Regions from separate parts of the Homo sapiens genome. Here region 2 is linked to region 1. Evidence: promoter capture Hi-C in human tissues and cell types (Jung and others, 2019). All regions are on one chromosome and are shown on one strand. Each heading gives the region's core, a stretch centred on a gene start or on the middle of the fragment in contact. The rest is flanking DNA. Distances are from core to core; before and after follow the strand shown.

Region 1 (4,782 bases), core at 1,188-3,687:
TACTATCAGGTACATGATTTAAAATGAAACTGCAAAAGATTAATTAGTAATTTTTATCTCGACCTACTGATTCCCTATATGTCGGTCCAAATTGTCACATTTGAAAAAAATGTATCTGTCGATCCCAACAGTACATGTTGGAAGAGGCAGCTTGTTTTCATGTTTTCAAATTATGTACTGCCAGAATCCTTCTTGTGTTTGTAGCCAGGAATAGAGTTACACAGTTGATTCTGATATTTGTTGCTAGCAGAAAGTTTTACTAAAACACATATAATTTAGTTGCAATTAATATAAAGATAATGACCAAAACTTTCAATTGGACAGATTAAAGTTATTGAAGTGGGCCACCGCCTGGGACATAGACATTGTGGTGTATTTATAATAGGCATAGGTGGCATTCAGTAATATTGTCATCAAGGATCTCTCTTGGTTACAATATTATTGTAGGTAACAAATTTAAGTTAATCCAGAAATTGGTTTTAGATGCAGCAGAAAGGAAAGGGGGAGAGGGTTTGCAGAACAGAGACTATTTTATTTAGTCCTACCAATCTGGCCTGAGACAGGCTTTCATATCTGCTTTTATAGAGAAGAAAAGAGGGGCCAAGAAGGCTGACTTCCTCAGCCAGTTTCCAGTTGCTAGGAATGAGCTATCCCTGGGTCACTATGACTGCAAAACCAGAGGTTTATCTGCTACCGTATCTCATAGCACAGAAGCCACTAAGATGAGTAACCACCAAAGGAATTAAGACAAGCACACATCACAACTAGGCTACACAATGCTACTGGCACGATGAAAGAGGCAGAAAAAAGTGCCTGGGGGTCACAACAGGGCAAAAGCACATCGAGTGGAGGCTTGGTGGATCAGGGAAGGTTTCTGAGATGTGGTGACATTCCAGAAAGTCCTTCAAAGATGCACTGTGTTACAACAAACAGAGAAGGAGGTGTTAGAAGAAAGGCCTCAATACGGGGGCACGGAGGAATGAGAGGTAAGCAGTTTAGATGCGGAATGAATCTAGCAAAGCTACATCAAGAAGTTAGCCACGTGAAAAAAAAAAAAAAGAATCTCCTCCCACGGCAAGGTCCATCACGTGAGGCCAGGAGACTTCAAGCCTACAAGGAAAGGCGCCACACATCAGGCCCAGGACACTCACCTGTGTGTCCACCCCAGGAGAGGCAGAAGGACCCGCTGGACCCCAGGACGCCAGGACGCCCAGACACCCACACATTCTTCCTCGTACACCTTGTTCCCTCCTTTCCCTTCTCTTCCCTTCAGAAGCCTTCCACCTGCCTGTGCCTTCCATAGCCACAACCAGGCACACTCTGGGTGGCTGAGGGCAACTCACTTCATCTTCCTTTTCCTCTCAGAGAGGGAAGGAAGAGCTTTGTTTCCTTTTCAAGGATCCCCACCAGCAGCAAGGCAGGTGGAAGAAACTGAGGGAAGAGGAAGCAGGACCCCCGCCGCCCCCCCAGTCTAGCCTTTACAGACTCCTTTTAAGGAGCTGAAGAGGTTGGGAGAGGCTTGCCCTGCCCCGGGGCAGCAGAAACCCGGGCGCTGCTGCAGCAGCTGTGGGCGATCTCCGTCAGCTCCTGGGCTCCAGGATCCTGCGGCCTCAGCCCCTCCGCGTCTACTCTCGGGGCCACCACCTCCAGTTGGCTTCTCCAGGGCACTTCATTTCATTCCGTCCCTAGCATCCAATAAGACGCGAAAAACTTAATCCCATTTTACAACTGAAGCCACTGAGGCCCAGAGAGCAAAGCCATTTGTCCTGGGAAAGTGGTCAAGCTGGGACTTTGACTCTTCAGACCACCCAAGGGAAGGGGTGTGTGTGTGTGTGTGTGTGTGTGTGCGTGTGCGGTGGGGGGCGCTTGTTTTGAGTTCTTAAGAAAACCTCCTGGCGACCCCCTTCTTCCACATCCCAAGACGCTCGTCCCGCACTTTCTCGGGAATGAGGTTTCTGCAGGCGAGGGCGGCGCTGCCTTCTTCCTCCGCGGCAGTGAGACCCCGAGGGCGCCCCAGGGTAGGAGGGGAGGCCGAATCATCTCCTGAGAAGAGCGCCAGAGAACTTCAGAGCGTTTCGCCCTTCCCCGGGAGAGGCAAACACCGACACGTCTGTGTCTTTTACCAACAAGTGCCTTCAAGCCCGGCGGGGGCAGACACCTCCGCGCCGGCCGCCGGCGAGGTCTCCGCGGTCTGCGGGGGCCACGGCCTCGCCTCAGCTGCGCTGATTTAGGGCGTTATCCGGTCCCGGGGCGGGAGGCGGCCTCCCGGGCGGCGAAGCAGCGCCCGCGGCGTGGGGCGACCGCGCGGTGGGCGGAGGGGCAGGGGGAGGGGCGGAGAGGCGTCCCCGGGGCGCAGGGGGCGGGCGTGCGGGCACACGCGGTGCGCGGCGGGGGCGGCCATCGTGCTGCGCAGCCTGGGCGCTTGGGGAGCCGCCCACTTCGCCGGGTCGCGCCCCGACGGCCGGAGCGTGGATGCGGCGGCGCCCGCCGAGCCGGGGCGGACGCGGGGCGGCCCGGGCCCGGGAGACGCGCCGGCAGCCCCGGCACCGCAGCGGTCGCAGGATGGCCGAGGTAAGCGCGGCGCCCTCCGCGGGCGCGGGGATTCTCTGTGCGCGGAGCAGGCGGCCCGGGACGCCGCTGGGCTCCGGCTCCCGTGGGTACCCGAGGGCCACCTCCCGAGGGCCAGCTGGCTACCTGCGCGGCAGCGCGGCCCCGAGGCGCGGCGGGAGGGACCGTGGTCTCCGGCCGGGAGGCGGCGGCGGGGGGGTTGGGGCTCTGGGACCCGTCCCTGCCCGACGTCCCGGAGCTGGCAAACGGTCTCCGCGCCGGATCTGCGGGCGCGTCGGAGGTGCCGGCGGGCCAGCCTGTGGAAATCGGCGGCGGCACTCGGCGGGTACCCTACACGCCACTCTCTGCCGCCCGCACCCCAGGCTTCAGCCCAGGACGTTAGGACTTGCTGTTTCCACCTGTGGGGGTCGACCCCTTCTTTTTTTTTTTTTCTTTTACCTCAGAATTTGTGAAACAGCTGATATTTCACACTGGCCGTCTTTCTCTCCGGGGATTGTTTCTCTGGAGAACGGGGCGCGCGGCAGCCTCCGGTCACTGAGGAGAACTGCGGAGACGGGCGGGCGGCCGTGAGGAGGCTCCCGTCCACTGCGGGACAAATCTTTTGTAGAGCAACAACAACAACAAAAAACAAAACAAACCCACAAGAACAAAAAACCCACGACTGAAAGTCGCTATTTAGACAGGTCCGGTCCGAAAGCTTCCGGGACACAGACCGAGCGTTGACCGTGTGCGGGGCAGATTTGACCAGCTTCACTGCGGACCCTGGAGTCCTTGTCGCGGCTCCGCGCGAGGTGGCCCGTCTTTCAGAAAGCGCTGGGACGGGGCTAAGGCGCTTGGGCTCTGGGCTGGAAGCCGGGCCGAGCCGCGTCCGCCGCTCCGAGGTTTTCCTGGAGTGACAGGAAGTGGGCCTGGGCTGCGGAGCCCGCGGCTGCGCCTGCCGCTTCCTTCAGGGGTTTGCATGGGAAGCGCCGGGACGGGAAGCCCCCGGCCCCCGACTTCGAGCTCCCTTAACAGTCCCGCCCAGCCTGGCCTTGGGACCTGCGAGCGCGTGGCTCGCCCGTCTCGGGAGCGCCCCGTCGGTTCCGTGCTGGGAGCCGGGCGGCGGCGGCGAGGCTGGGGGCCGCGGGCGGAGAAGGAGGAGGCCGCTGCGGGGTCTCCCGCTGCTCCTCCGGAGCCGCCGCCCAGACCCGGAGCCCCGCCGCCGCCTGGCTTTGCCGGAGTTCCTCGGGATTTGTCAGCCAGATGTGACAAGATTGTGGCGAGGCGAGTGAAGGAGATCTGATATTAATCAGCGCGTAGCTCCGAGCCAAACTTTCACAAATGCGGTGTAGAAACATGTTCTTCTCATTTAAGGCATCTCTTTGTGGCTGCGGGGCTGCCACCGCTCCGAGTCTGACAGTTAAGTGGAATGCCATCTCCCAGCCTTAATTGTGTGAGTGAAGTTGTGTGTGGTTGGGGGGCGGGGGGCATCAGACGCTCGGGGGTTCGGTAACGTCCCCTGGTTTTATGGCTGTGCTCGCCTCAGTCCTCTGAAGGCCAGGGCATTTAAAGCGGCCCAGACGCCTGGTCTCAGCCAGGCCTCTTGCTGTTAACACTTAAGGGGCCTAAAAGAGGCCCCACCGGTGTCCTGGGAATCCCTGTCAGGGAGAGAGAGAGTGTGTGTGTGAGGGAGAGAGAACATGTGTTACTGCATAGGACCACAGAGCAGATGTAGCAACAATTTTTTTAAAAATATATTCTTTTCATCAAAGCGACAAGATTTTGGCTTGACAGTAAGTGAATTGAAAAACAGCATTTGGCAGATTTTTTTTCATTCGCTGTTTATTTAATTTGCTATTCGATTTTATGGGATCTCTTGATAAGATTCTAAGTCTTCGACCCTGAGTTTGCAAATACGTGTTAATGTATTGAAACTTTTGTTCAGTGATGGATACACTGACTCTCTTTTCATTGATCCCTTCCCAGATTCGTTGATACATATTAAAACCTTGTTAAAATAGTTTGTCAAAATAAAATTTTGTACATCATATAAAAGAACATTACTTCAGATGTTACAAATTGTACTGGATTTGATTTGCTCTTTAAAGAGGTGTGAAAAGATGGCTTCTCCTTTTGTGATGATGAATTTTAAGAAATAACTTTATTCTTTTTGGCATACTTTCAGATGGTTAAAACGAATAAGATACGAGTCATCGTTTGATTTCTCATCTAATA
Region 2 (5,439 bases), core at 296-2,795, 210 kb after region 1:
TTCCTGGAGCTCAAAGTCGGGTCATGGGCATAATCGCAGCCTTATGAATAGAGGATATTATTTTACATGCTTATCGGTCTCTGCTGGATGTGTGAGTCTTTTTCTGCCTTTGGCTTCTTGACCTTAGCTTCTATTTATACCTACAATACTCATCCTTTCAAATAGAGGGTAATTCAATAGCAGCTATATTTTCATGCACTCGCTGAAATATAAAAATCCTAAGGGCATAATAATTGCCTTTTATGCTTTTTAAATGTCTTATCTTTCTTTGGCATTAAATTATTTTCCAAAATAGATTTCTTCCTTCTTCTTTCTCCTGACTGCCTTTTCTAGAATTTTACTCAATGTTTTTTGCCAATAGGTCTTTTTCTTATAAGTCCTCACATTTGTTCTAATTATAAACTAGCACACATGGTGACATATATTACTTTCCTAGGCTGGATTCCAGAAAGCAATGACAAGCAAAGAAAGAAGAGCTCCAACGTAAGCTGAATTTAGTCTAGGGTATGACAAATTGCCTTTGCTGCTGCATTTTTATTTTTTCAAATCCACCAAACATCAAGAGTTTTATTTCTAGCTGAGCAGGCTTCAGTGGGCTTCCCCCTTTTCTACTAAATTATAAGCTTCTTCAGGGTGAGTAACATTTTCTAGTCATCTTTGGAATCTCACCTCTAACTGCCTTGCAATGAGCATCGAACTGAATTAAATTGCATTTAATCAAATGAAAGGTGAAACCTAACAGCATTTCAGAGGAAGTCAAGGAAACAAACTGCATTCTATGGCATAGACATGCCTAGAGTCCCTGCTATAGTTGACCAGTTGGATAATTCAAAATTTGTATATAGTCAAATCTCACAGTGTTTTTATTTAAAAAAGAAAAAAAAAACCTCTTTCTCTAAAATAAGAAAGGTAATAGATTTGGAGGCTGAGATGGGCAGATCACAAAGTCAGGAATTCGAGACCAGCCTGGCCAACATAGTGAAACCCCGTCTCTACTAAAAATACAAAAAATTAGCCGGGTGTGGTGGCAGTCACCTGTAATCCCAGCTACTCAGGAGGCTGAGGCAGGAGAATCGCTTGAACCCAGGAGGCGGAGGTTGCAGTGAGCGGAGATTGCACCATTGCGCTCCAGCCCGTGCAACAGTGCGAGACTCCATCTCACAAAAAAAAAAAGAAAAGAAAAGTAATAGAAAGTGGGGGAAATCACCCACATTCCCATTATCCTGCAATATATCAAATTGATAACAGTGGTCCTACTTTGTCTCTTTATACACATATATGTGTGTGTGTATGTGGCATTTAAAACAAAATGGTATACTCTGAGCCCAAAAGACAAAATGATATGCTACACGTCTCGTTCTGTAGCCTGTTTTTACTTAGCATTATGGGTTGAGAATATTTTTTCACATCAATAGAATTTTTTCAACAGATATTTATCATTCCATCATATGATTGATTATACCATAATTTAGTTAACCACTGATCTAAGTTGTTTCTATTTTAAAAAATATTATAATGCTTTGATATCTTTGTTATTGTTGCTTTTAACTCTACACCCAGCTCTTATTTCTTTAGGATACCATAGGTAGAATTACTGGAACAAAAGATATGTAGGTTTTAAACTGTGGGCACATTTATGAATTGCTCTTCAGAGAGGTTATACTTCTGTGAGTTCCCTGTTTGTGTCTTTTGTCCATTAAAAAAGAAAGAGTATTTGTCCTATTGATTTGTAAAGGCTCTTTATATATTAAGGATATCATGCCTTTGTCATAAATCATGCAAACATTCTTCTCAGTTTGTGTTTCTTTTTAATTTTATTTTGTTTTATTTTTATTTTTACTTTATGTTTTTCTAATCCCAGCACTTTAGGAGGCTGAGGAGGGCGGACTGCCTGAGCTCAGGAGTTTGAGACCAGCCTGGGCAACATGGTGAAACCTGTCTCTACAAAAATACAAAAAATTAACCAGGTGTGGTGGCACATGCCTGTAGTCCCAGCTATTCGGGAGGCTGAGGCACAAGAATTGCTTGAACCCGGGAGGCAGAGGTTGCAGTGAGCTGAGATTACACCACTGCACTCCAGCCTGGGTGACAGATCGAGACTCTTTCTGCAAAAATATATAAAATAAAAATAAAAATACATAGCACCAGAAGCTAGTCTATGGAAAATCCTTCAAAGTATAAAGTTGTAAACAAAAGATTTGATTCTCATTAACACTTGGTGAAAACAGAAGTCTTCTCCTTTCAGGAACATTCTTGATAATTTATTGATTATAACCATACCCTTGTGTGACAGGAATCACACAAAATAGAACTTATCAGATTCCTTGTTTGTAGGGCACAATATTTTTTTTTTTTTTTTTTTGAGACAGAGTCTTGCTCTGTCACCCAGGCTGGAGTGCAGTGGCACGATCTCTGCTCACTGCAAGCTCCGCCTCCTGGGTTCATGCCATTCTCCTGCCTCAGCCTCCCGAGTAGCTGGGACTACAGGCACCCGCCACCAAGCCTGGCTAATTTTTTTTGTATTTTTAGTAGAGACGGGGTTTCACCGTGTTAGCCAGGATGGTCTTGATCTCCTGACCTCATGATCCACCCGCCTCGGCCTCCCAAAGTGCTAGGATTACAGGCGTGAGCCACCACACCTGGCCTATAGGGCACAAATTTGTAGCAGTTCTCTGAATGTCTGATACAGCTCAGACAGAAAAGAAACACCTGACCTCAGGCGATCTGCCCACCTCGGCCTTCCAAAGTGCTGGAATTACAAGCATGAACCACTGCACTCAGCCTATTCCAATGTTCTATTATCACAAATAATCCTGCACTGTTATCTGCTGTGGTTTGGATGTGGTTTGTTTGGCCCCACCAAATCTCGTGTTGAAATGTGATCCCCAGTGTTGGAGGTGAGGCCTGATGGGAAGTGTTTGGATCACAGGGCAGGTCCGACATAAATGTCTTGGTGCTATTCTCATGGGAGTAAGTGAATTCTCACTCTTAGTTCTCATTAGAACTGATTATTGAAAGAGCCTGGCACCTCCTCCCCTCTCTCTTGCTTCTTCTCTCACCATGTGATCTGTACATGCCAGCTGCCCCCTTTGCCTTCCACCATGAGTAGAAGCAGCCTGCAAAACTGTGAGCCAAATAAACCTCTTTTCTTTATAAATTATGTAGCATCAGGTACTCCTTTATAGCATCACAAATGGACTAGGACAGAAAATTTGTACCAAGGGTCGGGGGTTACTAGGAAGATACCTGAAAATGTGGAAGTGGTTTTAAAACTGAGTAATGGGAAGATGTTGGAAGAGTTTGGAGGGCTCAGAAGAAGACAGGAAGACAAGGGAAAGTTTGAAACTTTGAGACTGGTTAAGTGGTTGTGGGCAAAATGCTGATAGAAACATGAACAATGAAGGCCAGGCTGATGAGGTCTCAGTTGGAAATGAGGCACTTATTGGGAACTGGAGCAAAGGTCACCCTTGTTAAACTATAGCAAATAACGTGGCTGCATTGTGTCCATGCACTAGGACTTTGTGGAAGGCTGAACTTCAGAGTGATGACCTAGGGTATCTGGTAGAAGAAATTTCTAAGCAGCAAAGCATCCAAGACATGGTGTGGCTACTTTTAACAGATTATGAGCAGATATAGGAGTCAAGGCATGATCTAAAATTGGAACTTAAAAGGGAAGCAGAGAGTAAAACTTTGGAAAATTCTCAGCCTGGCCATGTGGTACAGAAGGAAAGAACATTTTCAGGTGAGGAATCCAAGAGCACAGCTGAGCCACCACTTGTTAGAGAGATTATCACAGATAAAAGGGAGGCAGGTGCTCGGGCCAGGCGTGGTGGCTCACGCCTGTAATCTCAGCACTTTGGGAGGCCAAGGTGGGCAGATCACAAGGTCAGGAGTTCAAGACCAGCCTGGCCAACATGGTGAAACCCCGTCTCTACTAAAAATACAAAAATTAGCTGGGCATGGTGGCACATGCCTATAATCCCAGCTACTTGGTAGGCTGAGGCAAGAGAATAACCTGAACCCAGGAGGTGGAGGTTGCAGTGAGCCAAGACCATGCCACTGCACTCCAGCCTGGCAACAGAGCGAGACAGTCTTTAACAAAAAAAAAAAAAAAAAAAAAAAAAAAAAAAAAAAAAAAAAAAAAAAAAAGGGAGGCAGGTGCTAATAGTCAAGACAATGGAAAAAGTCCCTGAAGGCATTTCAGAAATCTTCAAGTCTGTCTCTCCCATCACAGGCCAGGGGTCTAGGAGGACAGAATGTTTTGGGGGCCAGGCCTGGGGTGCTGCTGCCCTGCAGCCACCTTTGGACTCTGCTTCCTACATTCCAGCCCTGGGTGCTGCTCAGGCTGCCTATCCAGAGGATGCAAGCCATAAGCCTTGGTGGCATCCACGTGGTGTTAAGTCTGCAGATATGCAGAATGCAAGAGTAGCAAAGGCTTACATTTCCTTGTAGTTTGATATATTTCATCAGTATGGAAATTTTCCAGCCAGTATTTTTTTCAAATGCTCTTCTGCCTCATTCTCTATCATCCTTCTATGACTCCATTATACATATGTTAGTCCTTTTCACTTTGTCTCATGATTAACAGAATTAACAGACATATGTTGTTTCCTATTTATTTATTTATTTTATTGAGACAGGATCTCATTCTGTTGCCCAGGCTGGAGTGCAGTGGCATGATCATGGCTCACTGCAGCCTCCACCTCCAGGGTTCAAGTGATTCTCCTGCATCAGCCAGCTGAGTATCTGGGATTACAGTTGGACACCACTATGCCCAGCTAATTTTTGTATTTTTTGTAAAGGTGGAGCTTTGCCATGTTGCCCAGGCTGGTCTCAAACTCCTGGCCTTAAGCAATCTGCCTGTCTTGGGCTCCTAAAGTGCTGGGATTACAGGTGTGAGCTGCTGTGCCTGGCCTGTTTTCTGTATTTTCTATGCTTTTTTCTCTCTGTGTTTCAATTTAAACATTTTCTACAGGCTTGTCTTCCAGTTACATTAATTCTCTGTTCTGCTATATCTAATTTTCTATTAAACACAAATTAGTTATTAATTTGTTATAGTACTTTTTCAGGTCAAGGATCTCCATTTGACCCTTCTGCACAGATTCCAATTCTCTGGTAAAATTCTTCATCTTTTTTCTATTTTTTTCATACAGTAATTATAGTTATTTTATTTATTATTATTATTATTATTATTATTTTTATTTTTTTTTTTTTTGAGATGGGATCTCGCTCTGTCAGGCCCAGGCTGGAGTGCAGTGGTGCAATCTTGGCTTACTGCGACCTCCGCCTCCCAGGTTCAAGCGATTCTCCCACCTCAGTCTCCCAAATAGCTGGGATTATAGGCACCCACTACCACGCCCAGCTAATTTTTTGTATTTTTAGTAGAGATAAGGTTTTACCATACCGGCCAGGCTGGTCTCAAACTCCCTACCTCAGGTG

Evidence for each region. Contacts are between HindIII fragments. The study calls those that stand out against the background at their distance.
Region 2: a contact is called between a fragment that was not itself captured here and the fragment with the promoter of BNC1 in region 1, in 1 of the 25 tissues and cell types used here (stomach).

Annotation. Positions count from the first base shown.
Region 1 is chr15:83,282,319-83,287,100 of GRCh38, reverse strand. It overlaps BNC1 (basonuclin zinc finger protein 1), which reads left to right and starts at 2,437. Exons shown (of 5, transcript NM_001717.4): 1 at 2,437-2,571. The coding sequence starts at 2,473. BNC1-AS1 (BNC1 antisense RNA 1) reads right to left here and starts at 3,089. Exons shown (of 3, transcript XR_932542.3): 1 at 3,007-3,089. RefSeq lists enhancers at 1,276-1,776, 2,546-3,046. The HindIII fragment of the contact is 7,632 bases long and covers 1-4,594 here.
Region 2 is chr15:83,072,684-83,078,122 of GRCh38, reverse strand. No RefSeq gene overlaps it. Among named protein-coding and RNA genes, the nearest start is that of MIR4515, 8.1 kb to the right of the region's middle. The HindIII fragment of the contact is 5,519 bases long and covers 1-4,304 here.